Linked DNA regions of Homo sapiens: regions 1, 2, 3, 5, 6 and 7 are each linked to region 4. The links are contacts of gene promoters, found by promoter capture Hi-C in blood cells and fetal thymus (Javierre and others, 2016). All regions are on one chromosome and are shown on one strand. The core of a region is centred on a gene start or on the middle of the fragment in contact, and the rest is flanking DNA. Distances in the headings are between cores, read along the strand shown. Region 1 overlaps SPC25 (SPC25 component of NDC80 kinetochore complex). Region 2 overlaps ABCB11 (ATP binding cassette subfamily B member 11). Region 3 overlaps G6PC2 (glucose-6-phosphatase catalytic subunit 2). Region 4 holds the start of CERS6 (ceramide synthase 6). Region 5 overlaps CERS6 (ceramide synthase 6). Region 6 overlaps STK39 (serine/threonine kinase 39). Region 7 overlaps STK39 (serine/threonine kinase 39).

Evidence for each region. Contacts are between HindIII fragments. The CHiCAGO score rates a contact against its expected background, and 5 or more counts as called.
Region 1: a fragment that was not itself captured here is called in contact with the fragment with the promoter of CERS6 in region 4 in 3 of 17 cell types (fetal thymus, erythroblasts and naive B cells); the score reaches 6.5 in fetal thymus.
Region 2: a fragment that was not itself captured here is called in contact with the fragment with the promoter of CERS6 in region 4 in 2 of 17 cell types (megakaryocytes and erythroblasts); the score reaches 8.5 in megakaryocytes.
Region 3: a contact is called between a fragment that was not itself captured here and the fragment with the promoter of CERS6 in region 4, in 4 of 17 cell types (erythroblasts, total CD4 T cells, naive B cells and 1 more). The highest score is 7.4, in erythroblasts.
Region 5: a contact is called between a fragment that was not itself captured here and the fragment with the promoter of CERS6 in region 4, in 10 of 17 cell types (non-activated CD4 T cells, naive CD4 T cells, naive CD8 T cells and 7 more). The highest score is 20.7, in non-activated CD4 T cells.
Region 6: a contact is called between a fragment that was not itself captured here and the fragment with the promoter of CERS6 in region 4, in 1 of 17 cell types (naive B cells). The highest score is 5.1, in naive B cells.
Region 7: a contact is called between a fragment that was not itself captured here and the fragment with the promoter of CERS6 in region 4, in 2 of 17 cell types (total CD4 T cells and activated CD4 T cells). The highest score is 5.8, in total CD4 T cells.

The regions. Positions count from the first base shown.
Region 1 is chr2:168,879,562-168,882,737 of GRCh38, reverse strand. The region is part of intron 3 of SPC25 (SPC25 component of NDC80 kinetochore complex); the gene reads left to right. Among named protein-coding and RNA genes, the nearest start is that of SPC25, 9.3 kb to the left of the region's middle. The HindIII fragment of the contact is 1,387 bases long and covers 694-2,080 here.
Region 2 is chr2:168,925,280-168,928,508 of GRCh38, reverse strand. ABCB11 (ATP binding cassette subfamily B member 11) reads left to right here. Exons shown (of 28, transcript NM_003742.4): 26 at 1,147-1,353. Among named protein-coding and RNA genes, the nearest start is that of G6PC2, 26 kb to the right of the region's middle. The HindIII fragment of the contact is 1,259 bases long and covers 761-2,019 here.
Region 3 is chr2:168,908,417-168,911,384 of GRCh38, reverse strand. G6PC2 (glucose-6-phosphatase catalytic subunit 2) reads right to left here. Exons shown (of 5, transcript NM_021176.3): 5 at 1,385-2,968. Among named protein-coding and RNA genes, the nearest start is that of G6PC2, 8.6 kb to the right of the region's middle. RefSeq lists an enhancer at 2,647-2,968. The HindIII fragment of the contact is 5,946 bases long and covers 1-2,968 here.
Region 4 is chr2:168,454,989-168,458,030 of GRCh38, reverse strand. CERS6 (ceramide synthase 6) reads right to left here and starts at 1,759. Exons shown (of 10, transcript NM_203463.3): 1 at 1,413-1,759. The coding sequence starts at 1,582. LOC102724081 (a long non-coding RNA gene) reads left to right here. Exons shown (of 4, transcript XR_002959433.2): 1 at 1-1,000. RefSeq lists silencers at 1,068-1,127, 1,578-1,707, 1,828-1,917, 1,948-2,167. The HindIII fragment of the contact is 1,842 bases long and covers 314-2,155 here.
Region 5 is chr2:168,746,378-168,749,384 of GRCh38, reverse strand. The region is part of intron 8 of CERS6 (ceramide synthase 6); the gene reads right to left. Among named protein-coding and RNA genes, the nearest start is that of CERS6-AS1, 39 kb to the left of the region's middle. The HindIII fragment of the contact is 6,559 bases long and covers 1-3,007 here.
Region 6 is chr2:168,041,925-168,045,150 of GRCh38, reverse strand. The region is part of intron 14 of STK39 (serine/threonine kinase 39); the gene reads left to right. Among named protein-coding and RNA genes, the nearest start is that of B3GALT1-AS1, 100 kb to the right of the region's middle. The HindIII fragment of the contact is 2,492 bases long and covers 671-3,162 here.
Region 7 is chr2:168,137,624-168,140,647 of GRCh38, reverse strand. STK39 (serine/threonine kinase 39) reads left to right here. Exons shown (of 18, transcript NM_013233.3): 7 at 258-359; 8 at 2,427-2,560. Among named protein-coding and RNA genes, the nearest start is that of STK39, 110 kb to the left of the region's middle. The HindIII fragment of the contact is 2,059 bases long and covers 556-2,614 here.

The DNA of each region.
Region 1 (3,176 bases), core at 138-2,637, 430 kb before region 4:
TGTCTTCCTCTTGAGATTAAAATGGTAACCCATTGTTGGAGGAGGATAATTTAATGGGCAAAGCATTGCCTTTGAAGTCAAGACCTGAGTTTGAATGCAGTCTGTCTGTCTGTTTATTTATTTATTTATTTATTTTTGAGACAGGGTCTCGCCCTGTCACCAGGCTGGAGTGCAGTGGCGTGATCGCAGCTCACTGCAACCTCCGACTCCCTGGTTCAAGCTATTCTGCCTCAGCCTCCCTAGTAGCTGGAATTACAGGCACACGCCACCACGCCCAGCTCATTTTTGTATTTTTAGCAGAGACGAGGTTTCACCATGTTGGCCAGGATGGTCTCGATCTCCTGACCTCATGATCCGCCAGCCTGAGCGTTGCAAAGTGCAGGGATTACAGGCGTGAGCCGCCATGCCTGGCCCTTATTATTTATTTTAGCCTAGCAAATACAGCTTTGGGCAAGTTACTGAACTGCTGAGTGTTTTTCCTCTTCTTTTAAAAAAGTAGTAAAAGACTAAAGAATTTATTTTGGATTTCGGCACTGTTTAGAGAATAATCTACCTCTTGAACATTGATTTGATATTTCATTTATCATATTAACTTCCTAACTGCCAACGTTTGTTTGGCATATCTTTTATAATATTTAGAAGCATAAAATATCTCTTCATATATCCAGATCAAATATGTGTCTCAGACAAGCTTTGCAGTTTTTTTCAAACAGAGCCTACATATTTCTTGATCTAGGTTGATTCTGAATTTTCTGTTTGTTACCTCTGTAAACGAGATTTTCCTGTTGCCTGAGGAATGCTTGTCTTGAGAGATGTTGTTCAAGCACTGAGAATTCCATGCTCACTTCAATTTGGGAAACATATCATAGTGTATTTCTCTTTTGAAGATTTATGGTATTTAAAGTCTTCATAAATTCAGTGATGGACTAACTTGTTTAACTTTGAGAAAAAGATTACTCATCCTTGGAGCACATATTTACTTGTAATTATGATACTGGAATTAAATGACAGTATAGATAGTTTGGTTTATTTGATACAATTCTAGACTACTGGCATTAATTGGCATTCGATTTTAAAGTGTTTAGATTTCATTTAAGTATTAGTAAAACTAAATCTTTAATTCAGAAATTCATAAGCACATTATAAAGCACCACTTGAGCTCTACTGGCTCTGCTTATTTGACCTCAGTAGCCTCTGCCCTAGAGCTCTTATGCTTTTTGTGCCTTCCTGCTTTGTCTAGCCCCCTGATTGGCATTTTGGGGACACCATCTCTGTGCAATGGGCCCCAAGTAGCAGCGGTTGTATCTTTCTTCCAACAAACAGAGGAAGAAGTGGTCCTGCCAGGGTTACTCCTTTCCCAGCAGAGAGGTTTGGCCAGGTTTATGCACAGGCATTGTTGTTTTTATTTTGAGCATGTGTGTGAGAAAGGGGTGGGTAGTTGCAGAAGCTGAGTGTTTAAGAGGGCTAGGGCAAGAAGAACTTGTACAGAGAGTGACAGGGACATGGGGAAGGCAGGGAAGGTAGAGAGATTAAAGCCAAGAAGGAGTAATGAGGTGCTGGCCAATATGTGAGACAGATGTAAAAGGCCAGTATTTTGGTACATGGATACCTTGTTTTATTGCACTTCACTTTATTGCACTTTACAGATATTGCAATTTTTACAAATTAAAGGTTAATGGCAACCATGTGTCAAGCAAGTCTGTGGGCACCATTTTTCCATCAGCATGTGGTGACTTCGTATCTGTCACATGTTGGTAATTCTCACAAGATTTCAAACTTGTCATTATTATATTTCTTGTGGTGCTCTATGATCAGTGATCTTTGACGTTACTATTGTAATTGTTTTAAGTGCCATGAATGACACCCATATAAGATGACAAACTTAATGGATAAATGTTGAATGACTTCTGACTGCTCTGCTGACCAGCCATTCCTGTCATTCTTCCTCTCCTTGGGCCTCCCTAGTCTCCAGTATTGAAATTAGGCCAATTAATAACCCTATAGTGACCTCTAATTGTTCAACTGAAAGAAGGAGTCATAGGTCTCTCACTTTAAATCAAAAGCTAGAAATGATTAAGCTTAGTGGGAAAGTGTGTCAAAAGCTGAGATAGGCTGAAAGCTTGGCCTCTTGCGCCAATTAGCAAAAGTGCTAATTCAGTGAACACACGAATGATAAGAAAGAGAAACAGCCTTATTGTTAGAGAAAATTTTAGTGGCCTTAATAGAAGAGCAAACAAACCACAACATTCCCTTAAGCAAAAGCCTAATTCAGGGTAAGACTCTAGCCCTCTTCAATTCTGTGAAGGCTTGAGAAAGATGAGGAAGTTTCAGAAGAAAAGTTTGAAGCTAGCAGAAGTTGGTTCTTGAGGTTTAAGGAAAGCAGCTGCCTCCATAAAATAAAAATGCAAGATGAAGCAGAAGTGCTAATGTAGAAGCTACAGCAAGTTATCTAGCTAAGATCATTGAATGAACAGATCATTAAAGAACGGATTTTTGATGTAGATGAAAAAGCAGTTTTCTATTGGAAGAAGATGCCATCTAGGACTTTCATAGCTAGAGAGAAGTCAAGGCCTGCTTTGAAGCTTCAAAGACAGGCTGACTCTTTAGTGACTAATGCACCTGGTGACTTTAAGTTGAAGCCTGTGCTCACTTGCCATTCCCCAAATCCTAGGGCCCTTAAGAATTATACTAAATCTACTCTGCCTATGTTCTATAAATGGAATAGCAAAGCCTAGATGACAGCACATGTGTGTATAGCATAGTTTACTGAATATTTTAGGCCCACTGTTGAGGCCTTCTACTCAGGAAAAAAGATGGCTTTCAAAATATTTCTGCTCATTAACAGTGCATCTGGTCACTCAAGAGCGCTGATGGAGATTAGTGTTGTTTTCATGCCTACTAAGACAACATCCATTCTGCAGCCCATGGATCAAGGGGTAGTTTTGACTTTCATGTCTCATTATTTAAGAAATAAGGTTATAGCTACCCAAATAGTGATTAACTCTGATAGATCTGGGCAAAATAAATTGAAAACCTTCCAGAGAAAGGATTCACCATTCTAGATGCCATAGAACATTCGTGATTCACAGGAAGAGGTCAAAATATCAACATGAACAAGAGCTTGGAAGAAGTTGATTTTAACCCTCATGGATGACTTTGAGAGGTTCAAGACTTCA
Region 2 (3,229 bases), core at 141-2,640, 470 kb before region 4:
ACATTTTAAGCAGAAAACCTACCACTTTTTATGTTTTTTTTTCAAAGTCCTCTTTGCTCTTAATCTACCAAATGTAGGCGTTCAATATTTTCAACATTTATTTGGATACCTATGATGTGCCTGTTACTGCATGAGTCCCTGTGGGAGAGTCTAAGGACCATGAAGCATGTCTTCTGCCTTCTAGGAGCTTACAATGTAGCACATTTAGAAGAATGAGCAAACAGCCTGAGTGTTTAATTATTAAATTGTGTTTTGCAGACTTAAGTGCTATGGAAAATGAGTAGAGCAAGATAAGCCAGGGCTAATTGTTATTGAGAAATGCTTTATATTTTTTCTAATAGTGTTTGCTTTTTCCATTACTTAGAAATTATCTTAAATATAATCTGTTCATACCATTTATCACAATTTTTTTCTGAAATAATAGGGCCAAATACTTTATAGTAGCACGTTAGGCATCTGTGCCTTTAATATTCTAGGACTCTTTAGTGAATCAGCTCATGTGGTAGATATTCAAGTACCTGGACTTAACTGCCTAACTAGACTGTGAGTTCCTAGGAAACAGAGATTATATTTTCTTTACGTAGCAGACATAGATGGCTTAGGATGGTGCTTTGTGGCAGGTGATTCAAATATATGTTTGTTGATTGACTAAGTGAATAAATGTATTCCTTTTTTACTTGGTTTTATTATCTCAGTTATGCAGAGAATGGTGTTAGTAAAATCAAGAAAACAGGTTTGACCCTTATATTGCCCAAAAGCTTCACAGAGAAAAATCCTTTCCATAACTCATGAGTCTCAAAATAGAGCAACCCTGTATATTTGTAGAGAGTGTGCTGCACCAAAGTAAGGGGACGTTGTTTCTTACCTGAATACCTGAGCGTCTTTCTCGTTTGCCCCACCTGTAGAGCCAGAGTTCAGGAAATAAATAGGACCATAGTCTGATTAGTGTTAACATGGATGCCACTCCTGATAGACATTACATCCAGAGGTCAAAGGCAACATAATTTATTCCATAATTTTAGCCTTGGGATTGTTAGTCTGTTAAGCAAACCAAATGTCCTGCATAACACCTAATGCTAGAATATGAACTTTCCTCACTGCTGGAATTCTAAAAACCTAATGACCTGTCATCTCCTCTATTGGCAGATGATAGATGGTCATGACAGCAAAAAAGTAAATGTCCAGTTCCTCCGCTCAAACATTGGAATTGTTTCCCAGGAACCAGTGTTGTTTGCCTGTAGCATAATGGACAATATCAAGTATGGAGACAACACCAAAGAAATTCCCATGGAAAGAGTCATAGCAGCTGCAAAACAGGCTCAGCTGCATGATTTTGTCATGTCACTCCCAGAGGTGAGTACGAAGTCAGAGCCATTCCCTATGAGAGACAAGGATGGGGAGAAGTAGAATGACCAGAGTGTACAGGTTGAGCATCCCTAATCTGAAAATCCCAAATCCAAAATGTTCCAAAATTCAAAAATTTTTGAATGCCAACATGATTCCACAGGTGGAAAATTTCACACTTGACCTCATGTGATGGGTCACAGTCAAAATGCAGTCAAAACTTTGTTTCATGTACAAAATTATTAAAAATATTATAGGAATTTACTTCTGGGCTATGTGTATAAAGTAGATAAGAAACAGGAATTTTGTGGTTAGACTTGAGTCCTATCCCCAGGGTATCTCATTATATGCAGATATTCCAAAATCTGAAAAAATCCAGAATCTGAAACGTTTCTGGTCCCAAGCATTTCTGATAAGAAATATTCAATCTGTATTATGATTGTGGCTCTAGAAGGTCAAAGGATATGCAATTTATTTCACAGTGCCCCTGGACTGTCTTAGTTTTTTAAGCAAAAGAAATATCCTTCATCAACATACTCTTTAATTTTGGAAAGTATTGTATTGCCCAATGCAATGGATGCTATTTTTGTTGAATTTTTTTGTACATTGAGCTTTAGTTTAGCATAGTGGGGAAACACCTGAGATTTGGAGCTGACCTGGGCTTGCATCCAAGCTTTGCCACTTAGTAGCTTCATAGCTTTGGGACAATTATCCTTTCTGAGATTGTCTATTTCATCTGCAAAATGCAAGAAAATAACGTTAAAATGAAGAAAACACACTTAATAGCCACACAATGAAAGCGGCCACTGGTATTACTGCCATCATCATTATTTCATTACTTGGCAATGTGTACCGTGGGTGGTGGGTAAGTTACACCTGCCTTACTGTCTCTTACTTTGCCAAACCCAAGTCCAGATTTCGCGCAATATTGACTCTGCATTTTTCCATCCACCAAAAGTCCCTCTTAGTTTTGATCACAAGAAAAATTACAACATGGAAACCAAATTGTAGGGCCAAATTTTACCTTTAACCTTCTCTACTTACTTTTTAAAAATATCCCTGGGAAAATTGTTTTTCTTTATAAGTGATTATGTTTATAAATTTTGTGGGTTTGTGGAAGGCTTTTTGTTTGCTCTTTTCACAAAGTCTCCTAAGTTTTAGGCTCTTGGCCCAGTTCTTACCTGTTAGCCCAATCTATAAGCACATGGAAATTACTATTTGCTGAATCCAGAGATCAAAAGCAAAGATTGTGTGTCTCCTGGAAGATTCATTTATCCCACAAACCCTTATTGAATAGCTACTCATGTTGGGCAAGGCACTGTCATGGAGCTGGTTTACTGCATTGTCCTCATACAGACTTGCCCGTGGCACCCTTCTCTGAGCACTTTGTCTCCACAAAGACAAAGCAGGTTTTCATGGGTCTCACCTGGCTTAAAGGAGCATTCCTCAGGAGGCAAGGGAAGCAGGGAAAGGAAACAGCTCGTGTTGTGGAAGGCAAGGAAGAGAAGTAGTCAAGGCAAGGACTTAGAGGAGAGCAAGATTCACTTTCATCTGGATTCAGATTTCACTTTCACTGCTTGTTACTTGTCCTCGCACCATTTTCTTACCTCCCTGTGCCTAAGTTTTGTAATCTAAAAAATAGTGTGGGTATGGTTTCTGTGAATATTAAATGATACCCTAGCTAGAATAGTTAGCACAATACCTCTATGGTAAACACTCTATGAATGTTAACTAATTTTTATGTAGCCATGCCAGGCATGAGTGATTTTTTCTTCCTAATTTTCTCTAAAACTCACAATAAATATGTGAAGTAAGTGTTAATACTGCACCTCAGATGCCTAGCCAGCTCAAAAAAATTTAAATAATTTGTTCATGAACACAAGCT
Region 3 (2,968 bases), core at 345-2,844, 450 kb before region 4:
GCTCAATAAACATCTGTGGCCAGTGGCTACTATATTGGACAGCACAGATAGAGAACATCTCCATCACTGTAAAAGTTCAATTGAAGAGTGCTGGAATATACAGTTTTAAAATACTTAAGAAAAGAATCTCATTTTTAGAACCAAGTCACTTGACTTTTTCTTAAACCAAGATTTTTGTATGTATGTACCAATTTGATCTTGAATTTATTTAAAAATTTTGAAAAAATGTAAAGCATTTCAACATTTGACTTTTAGTTTCAAGGACATCTTATAACAATTCTTTTAATCACCATCTGTTTTATAATGAAATATGTCTAAAGAAGGCACCAACTTAACCTTCTTAGGCAGATGTCCAATCAATAGGTTGTCAAAGGAAAGGAACTAATATTCTTCCTGATAGCTAGTTTCAGCAATAATAAATTATTTTGTATTTTTTTTCCAAATGTAGGTTTGATTGGACAGTTTCTTGAGTCAGATTTTCTCTTGAGTCAGATTTTCTTGTCTAGATTTTCTCATCCTAAAAGCTCATGGTATTGACATTTTTCTCCTGAATATGTAGATAGGTAGACATTTTGAATATATGGTTATAGTAACAGTATTTAATGAGCTCAATTCCACTTACTTCTGACAAATAAATTGGAAACAGAAGAGTCTTTTCCATCATTATTAAGGGCAGGCATTTTCTCCAAGGCTGTGAAAAACGATTCCTCTTGCTGCCTAAGGCGTTTCAATTGCAAAAACAATTTACCACCATATGGATCCCTCCAGGAGACTTCAACTAGAATAAAGAGGGAAATCTACTCCCATGGGGACTCTGGGGTTTTTATGGAAGATAGGGGCAGAGTTCTTGGGGATTAATTATAGAAAACAAGCCCACACTTCATCCCAGTCCCCTCTGAGGGTAATGTGTTGCCCAACAGACAGCACCATGGGGTGGCTGAAGATAGCTTTCTCCATGGAAACGGAGAACGGATTTATGGTAGAGTCAATCATTGCTGCAGAATTCCCTGGCTATTAATGCCGGTTTCCTCAGGCCTTGCTGAAAGCAGGCTGAGATTGTACTAGGATGAAGGGGATGTACCAGAATCCTTCAAGACTAACATTATCTTATGTGAAATTTGGCAAAGGGCTTTTAGACAGGAATGAGATCTCTGATGTGTGGAAGATGTAATGACACAAATGTATCATGAAATGTGAAGGCATCTAAAGGTACAGCATGGTGGGACATAGGGTGGGACTGAACCAATGAGCAACGGTCATCACCTGAAGAATCATTCTTCTCTACTTCTTTCATCCCAAATGTCCCAGCAACATGAGACAAATTTCATTCTTAAGCTATTCTTTCTTAATCCCTCAGCTTTTTGCTTTGGAATCACCGAACCACTAATATCAAGTTCAGTTTATTTACCTTTTAGAAAGTTCAGTTGCCTTTTAGAAAGAAAGCTATTAAGTGCGTTTTATAAAAGCAATGACACATGCTCTATACATATACTTGGAAAGGAGTAATTAATACTTTGATTTTTTGAGGTTTGTTATCCTCAGCTACTATCATGTTAAACAACACTCACTTCAACTGTATTGTTTTCATTAATATTCATAGATTATTTAATATGTCATCTAAAATAATTAATGTATTGATATTCTGAGAAGAGTTACATAAAACATTGTGGGGGATTACTAAGATATCTAGCAAAATCTGCCTCAAAATCCTTGTACTTGATTGAAATGACACAGTTATCAACTTAAAGCCCAGCATTCCTAGATTCAATGAGGAAAAAACACACTTACTGAGAAATTGTTAATATAATATTAATAGTCCATCAACAATAATTTTCTAAAACAAAGCTATAGATTTTCATCACAGTTCAGTATACATAGAGACTAATCCAGCTAACAGATGCAAGCATTTAATAGTTGGCCTGGGTTGGAGCATGACCTTGAGGAAGGCACCTGATTTCTCTGGTTTTGAAAGTCTGTCTCCTAAAAATAAAGTATGGAGATGTCATAGTGAAGAGATAAGTCTTTGGGGGTTGAATAATGTTCTATTAGAGTAAGTTCAGTAGAATTTATTGAAATATTGGTGAGCACTACTGTAAAACAGAGACCAGAAGTGAAGCAGAGGTTCAAGTCCATACTGTAGCCTGGCCTGTTCTGTTGTCCCTGGACCCGTGTGTATATACATCTGGAGCCACTGTTGGTCCCACCTAGACCCTGCATGTATGTGTGGGGTATAAGTCAAAGAGGATGCAGTATTTCAATGTCATTTCTGAAAAGGTAGCTGATTTATATGGCAGTCATCATAGAATCTAAATGAAAGCATTCATTCTTACTGATTTTTACCTCTTGTAAATGAAGAAACAAAAGACAGTGTAGGCCAACTATTAATACAATGGCTCAAGCCTGCAATCCCAGCACTGTGGGAGGCTGACATGGGTGGAACATCCTCAAGGGAACTCCTTGAGGCCAGGAGTTCAAGACCAGCCTGGGCAAATATAGTAAGAAGCTGGCTCTAAAAAATATTCAAAAATTAGCCAGGCATGGTGGTGCACACCTGTAGTCTTAGCTAATGGGAGGCTGAGGAGGGAGGATCATTTGAGCCAGGAGTTTGAGGCTGCAGTGAGCCGCTATCCACCACTGCACTCCAGCCTGGGCAACAGAGCAAGTCCCTGGTTCTAAAAAGGAAACATACAAACAAAAAGCATGTGCATGTGTGCACACTCAAACACACAGTGTAATGGGGATATGTGTCAGAAGCCTTGGGTTCTAATTCCTGCTCTGAAGGTGGCGTGACTCCAGGCAAGTTCTTTTACCTAAATAGGCTTCCATTTCCTCATCTGAAAACTGAAACTGGATATGGCTGTGGTCCCCACTAAAATGTCAACAGGAATCAGATGCAGCCTGGCCTTAAGAAGATAAAGGAATCATAGTGGGGCTCCTGCTGGGATGCTGAAGACTGTGAGAAAATGGA
Region 4 (3,042 bases), core at 510-3,009:
CTGCTGTGACTTTTTTGATCCTTTTTTGTATAGGATCAATGACACATCTGTATTAGATTCCAATAATTTAAACATAGGTCTTAAAGTCTGTTGCTTTGTGCATGTCAATTTCTGCAGGCGAACAGCTGACTTCGTTTTCAAGCAACAATACTGTCCGGTGAAAAATATACCTTCCTGAGACAAAAGATACTTTTTGTCCCCATGAAGCTTTGTTGCCTCGTCCAGCAGCAAATGACTCAAAAGACGCGTTCTGCCACCCTCAACAGTCGTTTTCAGGCAAAGAGGAACAGCAAATGAGGTACCAGCAAAAGCTTAAGAAACAAAACCAAGGTGAGTTGAAGGCGGGGAAGAAAGGCGGAGTGGAAGCGAGAAATGCAATCTAAACTCTACTTTGTGATCTAAGAAATTCAGCCTTTACTGATGAATTGGGCAGAGGAAGGGGAGGGTACAAGAAAGGGGAAGATAATATTTTCTGTTACGAAAAAAAAAGTGTGCTGCTGTCCTGGTTTTCTTTCAGTAGCACCCAGAGAATGCATGGCAGGCACAATCTAGTTTCGCGACGAAAACGAATTCCATGAGAATAACACAAGTTTGTATGTGACACAATGGAGATATCCAACCAAACCGAGGAACTATACAATTGCATGACAATTCCTCAAAATTTTAAGTGCCTTCGAGTACCAAAAAAGAAGTTTATGATTATTCACAGGACAGGGTTATCAGTTTAATATCACCATTTTGCAGGATGTGGACCCGTCCTGTCACATCCTCTTTTAAAGAAACCGCTAATAACCTGAAATGCTATTATCCCCTATTTGCCAGGACTGTGGGCCTGATAGTTTCACGGATAAAAACCAAACAGCGACCAGAAGCCAGGAAGTCCCTGGCGAATTCTTTTGAAGCACAACCCCTACAATCCGTGTGCCGGAGCATAAAGATTGAAGTGTGCGCGGTTCCTCCTCCCTCCGGGCCGCGCGTCCGGAACGTTCCTGGCTGTCAGGTGGGTGGCGCGGGCCCCGGCGGGAAGCCCTGCCTGGCAGCCTTGCGTGGCGCGCCGGCGGAGAGGGGCGAGCCCCGCGGAATGCGGCGGGTCCTGAGCCCGACCACCGCTCACCTTTGTTCGCCTGCCCTTGCCGGGAGGAGAGCAGGGCCCAGGAGGAGGGCAGGGGGCGACCCTAACGCTCCGCGGCTCCTCCCCGGCGCCCGGGAGGAAATCCGTGGCAAGCCAGACCCTTTCTGGCTCCCAGAAAGCCAGCGGGGCAGGGGGGTCAGCAACCCCTCCCCGAACACAAAGGTTGGGAGGCGTGAACGCGAGCGTTGGGGGCGCGGGGGCGTGCGCCAGAGAGCGCGCGAGTGTGTGCGCGCGTGTGTGTGCGCAGGGGGAGGGGAGGAGGGGCTTCAGCCCTTCTTACCTCTCGAAGATGAGCCGCACCATGAAGATACAGAAGGCCAGGGGAAAAGCGAGATAGAGGTCCTCAGCCTGCGGGAAGGTGGCCTCCTCCGTGTTCTTCAGGTCCGCCCAGGTGACATTGTGCGGGAGCCAAAACCTCTCGTTCCAGAACCAGGCTAAGATCCCTGCCATCTTGCTTTGTCCACTCCTGTCCTGCGGCACCCGCAGCCCGCCAAGCTCTCCACCGCGCAGGGCGCCCGGGGATGCGCGCCCGGCTGGCCCCGAGCCTGTGCCGCCGCCGCCGCTGCTCCCGCCCGCCGCCGCCGCCTCCTCCGCGGCCGCTGCTCTCGAAGGCTCGCGGCGAGCCCCGGTTCTCTCCTCCCTCTGGCCGCGCTGGGGAAAGGGGCCGCCTTGCCCGTCACATGGCAGCTCGGGCCGCCCGCCCTGATTGGCTCGTCTTCGCGTCAAACAGCGAGGCACACACGCGGCCAACTCGCCCACACCCGCAGGGCAGGGCGCAGTCGCTGCGCCCTGGGCGCAGGGGCACCGCTCCGGGGAGTGTCGCCCGCCCCTGCTCTCACCGCTCTTTCGCTTTGCGCTTAGGGCGACGACCTAAAGTCGACCCCCCAAATCCGCCCTAGCCCCCTGGCTGGCTCGCACATGCTCAGAATGCTGGCTCCTGCCCCGCTGGGGTTTCAGGGCTCTCAGTCCTCTTCCCGTGCGCCCGGAGGCGGTGGGTCAGCAGGTAGGGGCTGCCGCCAAGCTTCAGAACCAGCCCTGCTCCAGGAGGACAGCAAAAAAAAAAAAAGGGGGGGGGAGGGGGAGGGGTAAAGAGCAAAGGAGGAAGTGGGAGGGAAAGGATCCTCCACTCCCGCGCTTGGAGAGGCAGGGTGAAAAATCAGGAACTGAGGCAGGATGGTTTGGCAAGAGCCTTCTGCCTCTGCCCCACGCCTGCCTTTCCCCAATCTTTGACTTTCCGGTCTTTTATACTGCTGCTTCTCATCAAAGTAGCTCCCCCAGGGAACAAGCCCCCCTATATTGATTTATGAGGTGGTACAAAAAATTAGGCACTTAATTGCTATTTGATTATTAATTGCTACTTGATGACGATGATGATGATGATGATGATGATGATAGCAACTGCAGCGTTCTGTAAAACCACCCCTCTCAACTAACCTCTCTGAAAAGGCTGCTAGACCACATTTTGACCTGGCACATCATGAGAACCTCCACTGTGCTACTCGGCAGGCTCATTATTTCTGCCTTTTGAATCTAAAACCTTTAAGGCATTAGGCCTGTGAGGCCTAACCCAGGCACCTTCCCTCCCGCAATGCATTTCCCCATTGATACAGGAGCCATGTGTGAATTCATTCCATGGCCCATGTATACATGGTTCTGGGGCATTTTTGTTCATTTTTCTCACATTCATTTTCTGCCTGGTGCTGCCAGTAGGCTATACTAAACCTTTCCAGTGGGCATATAACCGCACACACACACACACACACACACACAGAGAGAGGGAGTTTCTTTTACTCTTCCCTCCCCTCTTTCCACTCTATCTCTTGAAAGTGAAACTGAAGAATGGCCTATACTGGTGCTTCCAATTTCTCTCCCCTCATTTTCTTTTGAACTTCCATTTGGACATTTGTCTC
Region 5 (3,007 bases), core at 2-2,501, 290 kb before region 4:
TGGGATGGGCTTGCGCATTTCTCACTCTAAAACTGATTTTTAAATTCCGTCTGAACAAAAGAAGCAGCACTCAGATTCATCCATGGTTATGAGTGTGGGGATTCAGATAGCGAAGAGGGGTCAACTTAAACAAATAGTATGATATTTGATATCCTTTGCCCCTGGAATGTGGGTTTGTTGGCAAGTTTGGAGCTGTCTTTGTCAAGATGCCTGATATTTAGAGCTTAATAGCTGCCTAGGGACTGTGAAATCTGCCTGGGTTCTGCACTCTTCTGTTACTTTCTTATGTCATAATTTTGGAAGATATAGGAGAGAGAGTGCTTCTGGAAATGATGGGTACAATACCTCAAACCTTGTCTTTTGGGGAAAGGAGGAAATGGTAAGACAGAGGGGGAGGAAGGGATGGGGGAGGCAGGAATCAGGGGGTGGGAAAAGGGCAGACAGAAAGGACACAAGAGATCTGCTTCCCTGGGGCACTGCAGGTGCCTATACTGTGAACCAAGAGCAGGCCTTGCACAAACTCAGCATGGCATTTAATACCTGCCCCCCCCCCACCCCCAACCACGCCATTTCTGGGATTAAATGTTATACTAATAAAAAGACAAATAGATGTGCCGTAGACCTTGGGAGAGGGAAGTCCCTGTGCAAAACTCAGAGCCTGAGATCTGAAAGCCTTTTCCACCTGTAACTGCCAGGCTGGAAATCTGCCTGATGTGACCAATTTGCTGGCAAGCCTTGGACAGGCACACACAACGCTTTACTGAGGAAGAAAGAAATACAAACACAATTTGACTGAAGCAGTCCCCAGGCCAGCCATTCGGTGGGGGCGTGCAGGTTCAGGAGTAGGACCACAATGAGTTCTTTTGCAGAAATCACTGCAAACACTTCCAAGTTGTGGCTTTAGAGATGGTGGTTTTATTTAGTAAAAATTATTTTTCCAATACTCAAAAGACAGTATACAGAATCTCAGGGGGTTTCATCTAAAAATAAATTTTAAAAAATTATTTAACTAACAGGACAAGGCACTCTCTTGTGTTTCCACCAGTTATACTGAGTTTAACTGTGCTTATCCATTCAATGTTAATTACTTATTTCCATAGTCCCTGATCATAAATAAAATGGTTACAGTCAACAAGCTGAAGGTAAGACTTCTACTCTCACTGCAGAAAGAGCAATAGCCAAGGCCATACCTTAAATTGGAGAGGAAATTTATCCTACACACCATTGGCCATCTGAGTGTACAGGGCCTAGCTCCTTGTCAGAAGGTTAGGTGGCATCTGGGTAGCATCTGATGCAGCTTTCACTCACAGATATCACAGATTTTGATGAGAAAATCACAACATATTCAAAGAGAAAAGTGGGCAAAGAATCAGAAGAAATACAACTGGCTTATGAAAACATGAACAAAATGTTCTCCCATATTAATAATCCAATAAATACAAAGTAAAACAGGATACATGCATGTTGAAGTCTTTGGGCTGAACTGTCATGATATCTGCAGCCTAATTTCAGATAATTTGGCAAATGCGTGTGTGTGTGTGTGTGTTTATGTGTGAGCGTGTGTAGGAAGTGCTATTGGTATCATAAGGGCTAACGGTGAGTGCAACTGGGGGTATATGCATATTTACTGTATTTTTTCAAATTTTCTGTGGGTTTGAAAATGTTGAAACTAATAATTAAAAGAGATAATATTTAAACTATATGATCAAATATACATAAAAAAGAGAAAACACTGTGTTATCAAAAAATAAAATGAAACCACTCAAATACATAGTTTGTCAGGGTACAAGTAGCTGAAATCTTCATAGAAAATAATTTGGCTATATATATCCAGAATATCTTAAAATAACTCTCTACCTTCAAAGTCACTTTTACGGTTATCTATCTTTTAAGAAATAAAGGTTACCAACAAAGATTTAAGTTCAAGAATGCTTTCTCAATACTATTTCTAATGGTTTTAAAAAATGATTAAAAATCCATATCTATAGTGGTAGAACATTATTCATACATTAAAATCATGTCTTTTATCTAGTGACATGAGAACATTCTCACAACTTAATGAAAAGTGACAAAAGATTAAAAAAAAAAAAAAATTTGTTGAGACAGGGTCTCACTCCATTGCCCAGGATGGAGTGCAGTGGTGCAATCATGGCTCACTGAATCCTCCACCTCCTGGGCTCAAGCGATCTTCCAACCTCAGCCTCCTGAGTAACTGGGACCATAGGCATGCACCATCATGCTCGGTTAATTTTTTTAACTTTTATTTTTAATAGAGACGAGGTCTTGCTATGTTGCCTAGGCTAGATTAAAAATTACGTACAGTATAATCTCCAATTTTCCTTTAGACATTTTACACACATATGTATAAAACATGATTTAAAGTGCGATTAAATGAACATATGCCAAAATGGTAATTAACACTAGGTACTTCTGATTCCAGGGATTTAAAATGTTTTCTACATTTTCCAAATGTTCTCTAATGAGTATGTATTCTTATAATTAGAGAAAATAACATACTTTAAATCTATATAAATGCATATAATCATTTTTTCAAAGATGATTTTATATATATATATATATATATATATATATATATATATATATATATACCCTTTACCCTTTTAAATCAGTTTGGAAATAGCTACTTGTGTTCAACTCTCAGGTGCAGAAGAGGGGAAGCTGCTTCAGTGCCAGGGCTGAACATCTTTAGGATTGCACAAGGTGTACCAAGGGGATAAAACTCAGAATTTAAGCCTGTTGTTAGTTTTGGTGTTAACATTCCTATGTGTAAGTATCCTTAGTGTGTCACTCAGATAGTACCACAGAAACAAAGTCAAGCAGAAAAATACCAGACATCAGTAGAGTCTCATCATGTCCCTCCACCCAAATCTTCCTTAGATGGAGACCACACTCGGAACGTGATGGCAGAGGGGTGGGATGTGTGCTTTTCTGAAGGTCTGTTAGTGGAGACTGCACATCTTCTTGCATGATCAAGGGCAATAAAGTA
Region 6 (3,226 bases), core at 667-3,166, 410 kb after region 4:
ATCATTATATTCTTGTTTATAACTTTTTTTTGGTCACTTATAAGATGCAAATGAACAATGTTGGGTTTTTTTTGGTTTTTTTGTTTGTTTGTTTTTTGTTTTTTTGACTTGTGCCTTTACTTTCAACAGAAGTTACAAGGAGCTTGCTGTTCACTGAATGCTTTTCTTTCTCTTCTCTGTTATCAGGTTGATTCCTCTTCAGTATAGTTACTCATTTTTTCCTGTACTTACCTGAAAGGAGAATGTAATTAACCACTGTCTTTGGCAGTGGGTCTGTTGGAATTATTACCTGTTTGGCCCTTAGTCATGGTTGGTTGGTTTACATTCTTGGTCTCCTTTCCCAATCTTATTTGTCTTCTGTGACCCTTGCCCAGCATGCAGTTGGCCTCTCCTTCCACTGCAGACAAACAGGTCTTCGCTCACCTTCCCAAAAAGCTGTCACTGGTTCCCTTGGGTTTGCCTCACCACAGTGCAACAAAGTGCATGAATTTGGGTATTTGTAGATTTGGTGCAGTGTACATTTTAATCTTCTTCTTCTCTTTTTCTAAACTCCTGGTCCTTTTATACTTTCCTTCCTGTTTCTTAGATAATTATTAGAGGCTGATCTTTTCAGTGTTAGCATCTTTCTTATAAACAGTCTTTGGGTCATATTTCAGTATTTTATCAAGCTTACTTTAAGGACAAATCAAGCTGATGCCCAGTAACCTCTCTTAGGCTAGAATTGACTTTATGATGTTCAGTAAATCACCATGTTTAAGGACTCCAAACTTATCGTAGTGGCCTTGGACTTCAAGTTGCATATTGAGTGATAAGGAAAGGACCATATATCTATTTTTCCATCCTAATCTCTACTATGTTATTGGTGTTGAAACTGTAGAAAGGTCCATTAAGTCTAAGGTTACCTTAAAGGGAGGTTATCTCTGCTGTTAAAGTGACAATACCCGTGATATACTCAACAGTATTGCAAGGATCTTCCCCTTTCTCTCAAAAGTCAGCTATTGTTATTTACTTGTGCTGCTGCCTACTTCATGAAAAAAAGGAGCCATATAAAAGTGATACATTTTAACATGTTGCAGAGATGAACAAGGGCTTTCACACAACCTCCCCAGAGAAAGGAATAATAATTATTTTGATAAAGTGCTGTTCTATTTGAGAGGTTGCTTTCCTCTAGCTAAATCCTCAATAATAATGCCTACATCTATTATTGTTCTAATATAAAGAATTGCGAGTGTAGGGAATTATTTTATATAAAGAGATTCTCACTCTAGGGAATTTCTATACTGGATAATCTGCAGCCTCCTGAGTGCAAATAAAAAATGGAAATTAAAATCCTCTAGCTTTGAAGCATACATAATAAGGCTGCTGCAAGTACGAAGTCAGAAATTGTGAGATGATCAAAATCTTCACAGAGTAATATGTGCTAATGACAAAGTTCAGGTCAGAAACCAGGAAAAGAATTGAGAAAGGGCTATGGTTGTGTTAGCAGCCTCCTACATCTTTGTTGGTGGTCAGAAATTGTGCCTGTGTTGTACTTCTGAGTTAGTTGTAACCTATTATATTCCTCTTTGCTGTGTCACTCCTGCAAGGAGAATTTGCAGAGAAAATTCACATTTGCATTGCTTCTGTGTTTTAAAATTTAGAAGCAGCTGCAACATGATTTAATCAAGTAGGGAAATATCGTTTAACTACATTTTGGGGGTTGTTTGTTTGCCTTTTTGCTGTATATACACACTTAATTGATTCTGTTACTGGGGTTTGTATTTATTTTCAATTTAAAAATTAGGAATCATCAGCCTCCAGATTACTTGCCTCTATTAGTTATTGATGAGTGATTTTTTTTTGCCATCAATGAGTAATAAATAGAACACCTCAGATTAATTAATTCCATTTGTTGAATTGACCTTTGTTTCAGACACTGTTCTGGGGGTATAAAATGAATAAACCAAGTTAAATGATAAAGGAAAACATACTCTGATTGCTGAGTAAAAGGTGGGCTTTGAACTGTATTTTGTATTCATAGCCGTCAGTCAGGTAGTTGAAGATTGACTGGGTAAAGTTGGGCGGTGGGGACGGAGGGGCCAGGTAGATAATAGTTCTTAACTGTGGGTGTTAGGGACCTAAAAACTCAGATTAAGCCTGTAGCTTCCCCCTCCTGCCCCTACCAAATACATATTTAACATTTACATAGTATTTTGCAGGTGGTTTAGATAGGTTTACTGATCCCCAGAAACCCATCTATGGACCCTGCAAAGCTCCAAAATTAGAAGGAAGGTGGCTGGGTGCAGTGGCTCACTCCTATAATCCCAGCACTTTGGGAGGCCAAGATGGGTGGATCACAAGGTCAGGAGTTCAAGACCAGCCTGGCCAAGATGGTGAAGCCCCATCTCTACTAAAAATACAAAAATTAGCTGAGCATGGTGGCAGGCGCCTGTAATCCCAGCTACTCGGGAGGCTGAGGCAGAGAACTGCTTGCACCCAAGAGGCAGAGGTTGCAGTGAGCCAAGATCATGCCACTGCAATCTAGCCTGGGTGACAGAGCGAGACTCCATCTCAAGAAAAAAAAAAAAAAAAAAGAAGGAAGGAAGATAGAATTAAGATCCTTCAAACCTGTTGTTACTGTTTTTCCAGGAATGCCCAGACTCCATTGTAACCCCTACCTTTGAACTGGGCTAACCGGACTTAAATAGGAATTGTGCCATAACCTATCTCTTTGTTGTTTTTAATATACAAAGTAACAGTAGAAAGTTAGGTTGAGTATGAAGATGATTTTTAAAGGGAGGGCTTTTCCGTAGAGAGATGGACAGAGAGATACCCTAGAAATATTTAGAGGAACTGAAAGTTGAGTAAGCATTGATGTAACCACATGATATAAATGAATGATTTATTTTTACCTTGCCTTGTTCCAGAGAAGATTTAAGGTGACTTACAGTATGAAAGCATAAAGTAGGTGAAGTAAAATGAAGCTAAAATGAGATTTTAAAAATATCTTGAGAGTGGAAAGAGAATTGGGCAGGGAACCCAGAGTGATATAATTACAATCACTGAGAAGAAAATTTAGCCTTCAGCTTGTTAGCAACCAGGAAATTATAGTTGTCTATTTAGTCCTCCTCTCTTGACAAAAGTAGACCTATAGGATTAAAAGATTATATAGCGAGGCAAGCTTTTGCTTGATACCAAATTCAAGTGGAATTTATCTCTTGGTTCTTTCTATAAAGAACCTTGGATA
Region 7 (3,024 bases), core at 336-2,835, 320 kb after region 4:
TAAAAAAACAAAAAAAGTGACTTTTTGATGGACATAGTACAATCGTACAGATCATTAATATGCTAACATTTCATTTGTATCTAGCATTTTAGTAGAATGCATAATGTAACTAAGATTTAATTCTCAATTGCTAGCTAATTAGCAAACTAACGTGAAAGTTATACATCAACAGCTGTGGATTTCTGACATGACATGGACTTGATGATGTGTAACATGCCTGCTGTATGATTGTGTTTTTTTCCTGCTTTCTTTCTTAGGTGAGAGGCTATGACTTCAAGGCTGACATGTGGAGTTTTGGAATAACTGCCATTGAATTAGCAACAGGAGCAGCGCCTTATCACAAATATCCTCCCATGAAAGTAATTACAATTGGAAATACTACATCGGGGTTGAAATGTGATTGGACGGAATCTGTTTTCTAATTCTCTTCAACATCTTCATTCTTCTCTTAGACCCGAGGAGAATTAATGGAGGAACGCAGCCAAGTTGAACATTGTCTGATTTTCTCAGTGGACAGAATAGGACAAAAGTAGCATAATTCCCAGCTTTGAAGCTTGCTTTATAGTCTCAGCACAGAGTTAAGAAAATAATGTTATCAGATTGGTTGATGGAGGTTGATAGCTATGACAAATGCTGGTCATTACTCTTTTGATAGCAGAACAACGCCAGGTTCCCAGAGAATATCTCAAAATAGATTATAGTGATGTCATCTCTGCAAATGGGTTTCCCAGATTTTCAGAGCTTTTTTTTTTCTTTCTTTTTAAGTGGACTACAACATTTTTACCCCTGCTCTTATAGTGTAATGTTGGCAACTGATCTGATATAAGTGAGCCACAGTGTTTTTAGGATGCTATTTTCACGTTTCTGCTCTTCTTTTAACTGGTTTATACCTCATTATTTCTCTTAGTTCTGAGATAGTGGTATCAGGGCTTATTTACCCAACTGGATTTTGTTTTGAGGCTGAAATAGTTTAGTGAAATTATAATGCTATTTTACATAGAGTATGGTCTATGATTGTTTCATGGTTACTGGAAAAATTTGGGAGGATTTATTTTAAAAACCCAAGAATAAAAAGTGAGTTTTACTGATTAAAAGAAGTAGTATACTCATATTGTAGAAAGTTTGGATGTGCAACTCAGACTAAAGAAGAAAAACAATCATCCGTAATCTCATCAACCAGACAATCTCTACTAAGGTTTCAGTGTAATTCATTTTATTGTTTTTATATATATATATATAAATTTTTTTTAACATAGTTAGGATTTTAGTGTATTTGTGTGTGTGTGGGTACATATACCGGATTTTGCTAGCAGAAAATTTAAAATTGAAGCGTAAACAATTGAAGTGACCTCTTGGAGAAAAAGCACTGAAGTAATGCTGAAGGATTTTTTCTTTTATTCAGTTTTTCTTTCTTCATTTTCTTTCTTTTGCCTCTTCTCAGTGTTTCCCACCTGAATTCAAAGTCGCACTTGCTTGTCCCAGCCTGACGTCCTCTAGGACTTTTCTTCAGAGTTCCCAGTCTCCCGCTTTCTCCTGTGGGCTATTATCCTCCACAAACAATAAGCCGTCACTTTCACGCTTCATCTATTCACACATCTGAAAGTGTTTGAAAAGAGGCTTGACATGTATAGCATTTGCATAAATTAAGGCTGAATTATGCATTAATGAGTTTTATTGATTGTACAGGCTAGTAGTTTTCTACACTTTCCACTTTTTTTTTAAAGCAAATACTTTTGAAGTTAGTATGAAAGAGTGGAATTTTTACCGTTTTGATTTAAAGTTGTATTTTATTTTGTTTTGTCCCCCTCCGAAAGCAGCAAGGACTTTGGATTTGATGACAGTTTTTAGCAACTCAGTTATATTCTGGCTATCCTTCAGTGTCCTGCTCTCTCAGCTTTGCCAAGCCTTTTAGCAATTTTCTGTATGTTTTCTCATTTTTTTAAAGGAAATCATGTTACCTCCTGGGATGTTGTGGTTTTATTTTTAGGGCTAGTAATGTGTTACAGAAGCCTTGAGTACAGGCAGTTCCTTACTTATGAATGACCTGTATACATGAACAGTCACTGCCTCGCTGGCCCTCTCTCTTCTCCTCCACCCGCTTTCCCAACTAGCCTGTGCTGGAGCTACGTGCTCCTCAAGGCAGTACACGAGCCAGTTCCCAGAAAGCTCTGTCCGGGATCATTCTTAACACATAGAGCAAGTTTTGTAAGTTCTGTCAATGGAATAACAAAAAGGTTAAAGGGGGCATGAACACATTTGCAGTGGTAATGAATACTTTAAATACACAATTTCTGCAAAGTTAAAATCATGGGAAAGCACTTTGTATCTAATCAAGGATGGTTTTTTACACTTTTATGAAAAATTCAAAACTAGATTGTAGCAATTGCTATACTGAGATTCTGTCTTCATGTTTGTTTCTGCTGCAGGTGTTAATGTTGACTTTGCAAAATGATCCACCCACTTTGGAAACAGGGGTAGAGGATAAAGAAATGATGAAAAAGTACGGCAAGTCCTTTAGAAAATTACTTTCACTGTGTCTTCAGAAAGATCCTTCCAAAAGGTAAGTGAAACTTAGTGGATGAGTTAATGACCTGGTTTGAGCCATGACAAAGCTTTGTTTGTAGATGGGGAAAGGCTTTGTGAGGACACTGGAAAGGTATTTCTTGTCTGGGAAACCCTGCTGTGGTCCCCAGATTTCCAACCTGTTAGTGAAAGACGGTGTGGGTCCAAGAGGGAAAGAAGTGGGTGAAGAACGAAGGAGAGGCAGAGGAAAAATTGTGGTGTTAACAAGATTCACTGTGCTTGTTAAGTGTGGGCTCTGTCATCAAAGGAAATGAAGTAAAACAGAAATCAAAAGAAATTGGCAGTGCTGCATTCAGAAGCTGAGCTAATATTCTTCACTGTGTAGGTTGAACTGACCTCTCAGGATTTGAATATCCTGCTAGCTCCAGTCTAAACTAGGCAGAGCTATTGAATTTTGCATGAGCTTCCTGTTAGTTGCAGAACAAGTTGTTGGTGCTGTTT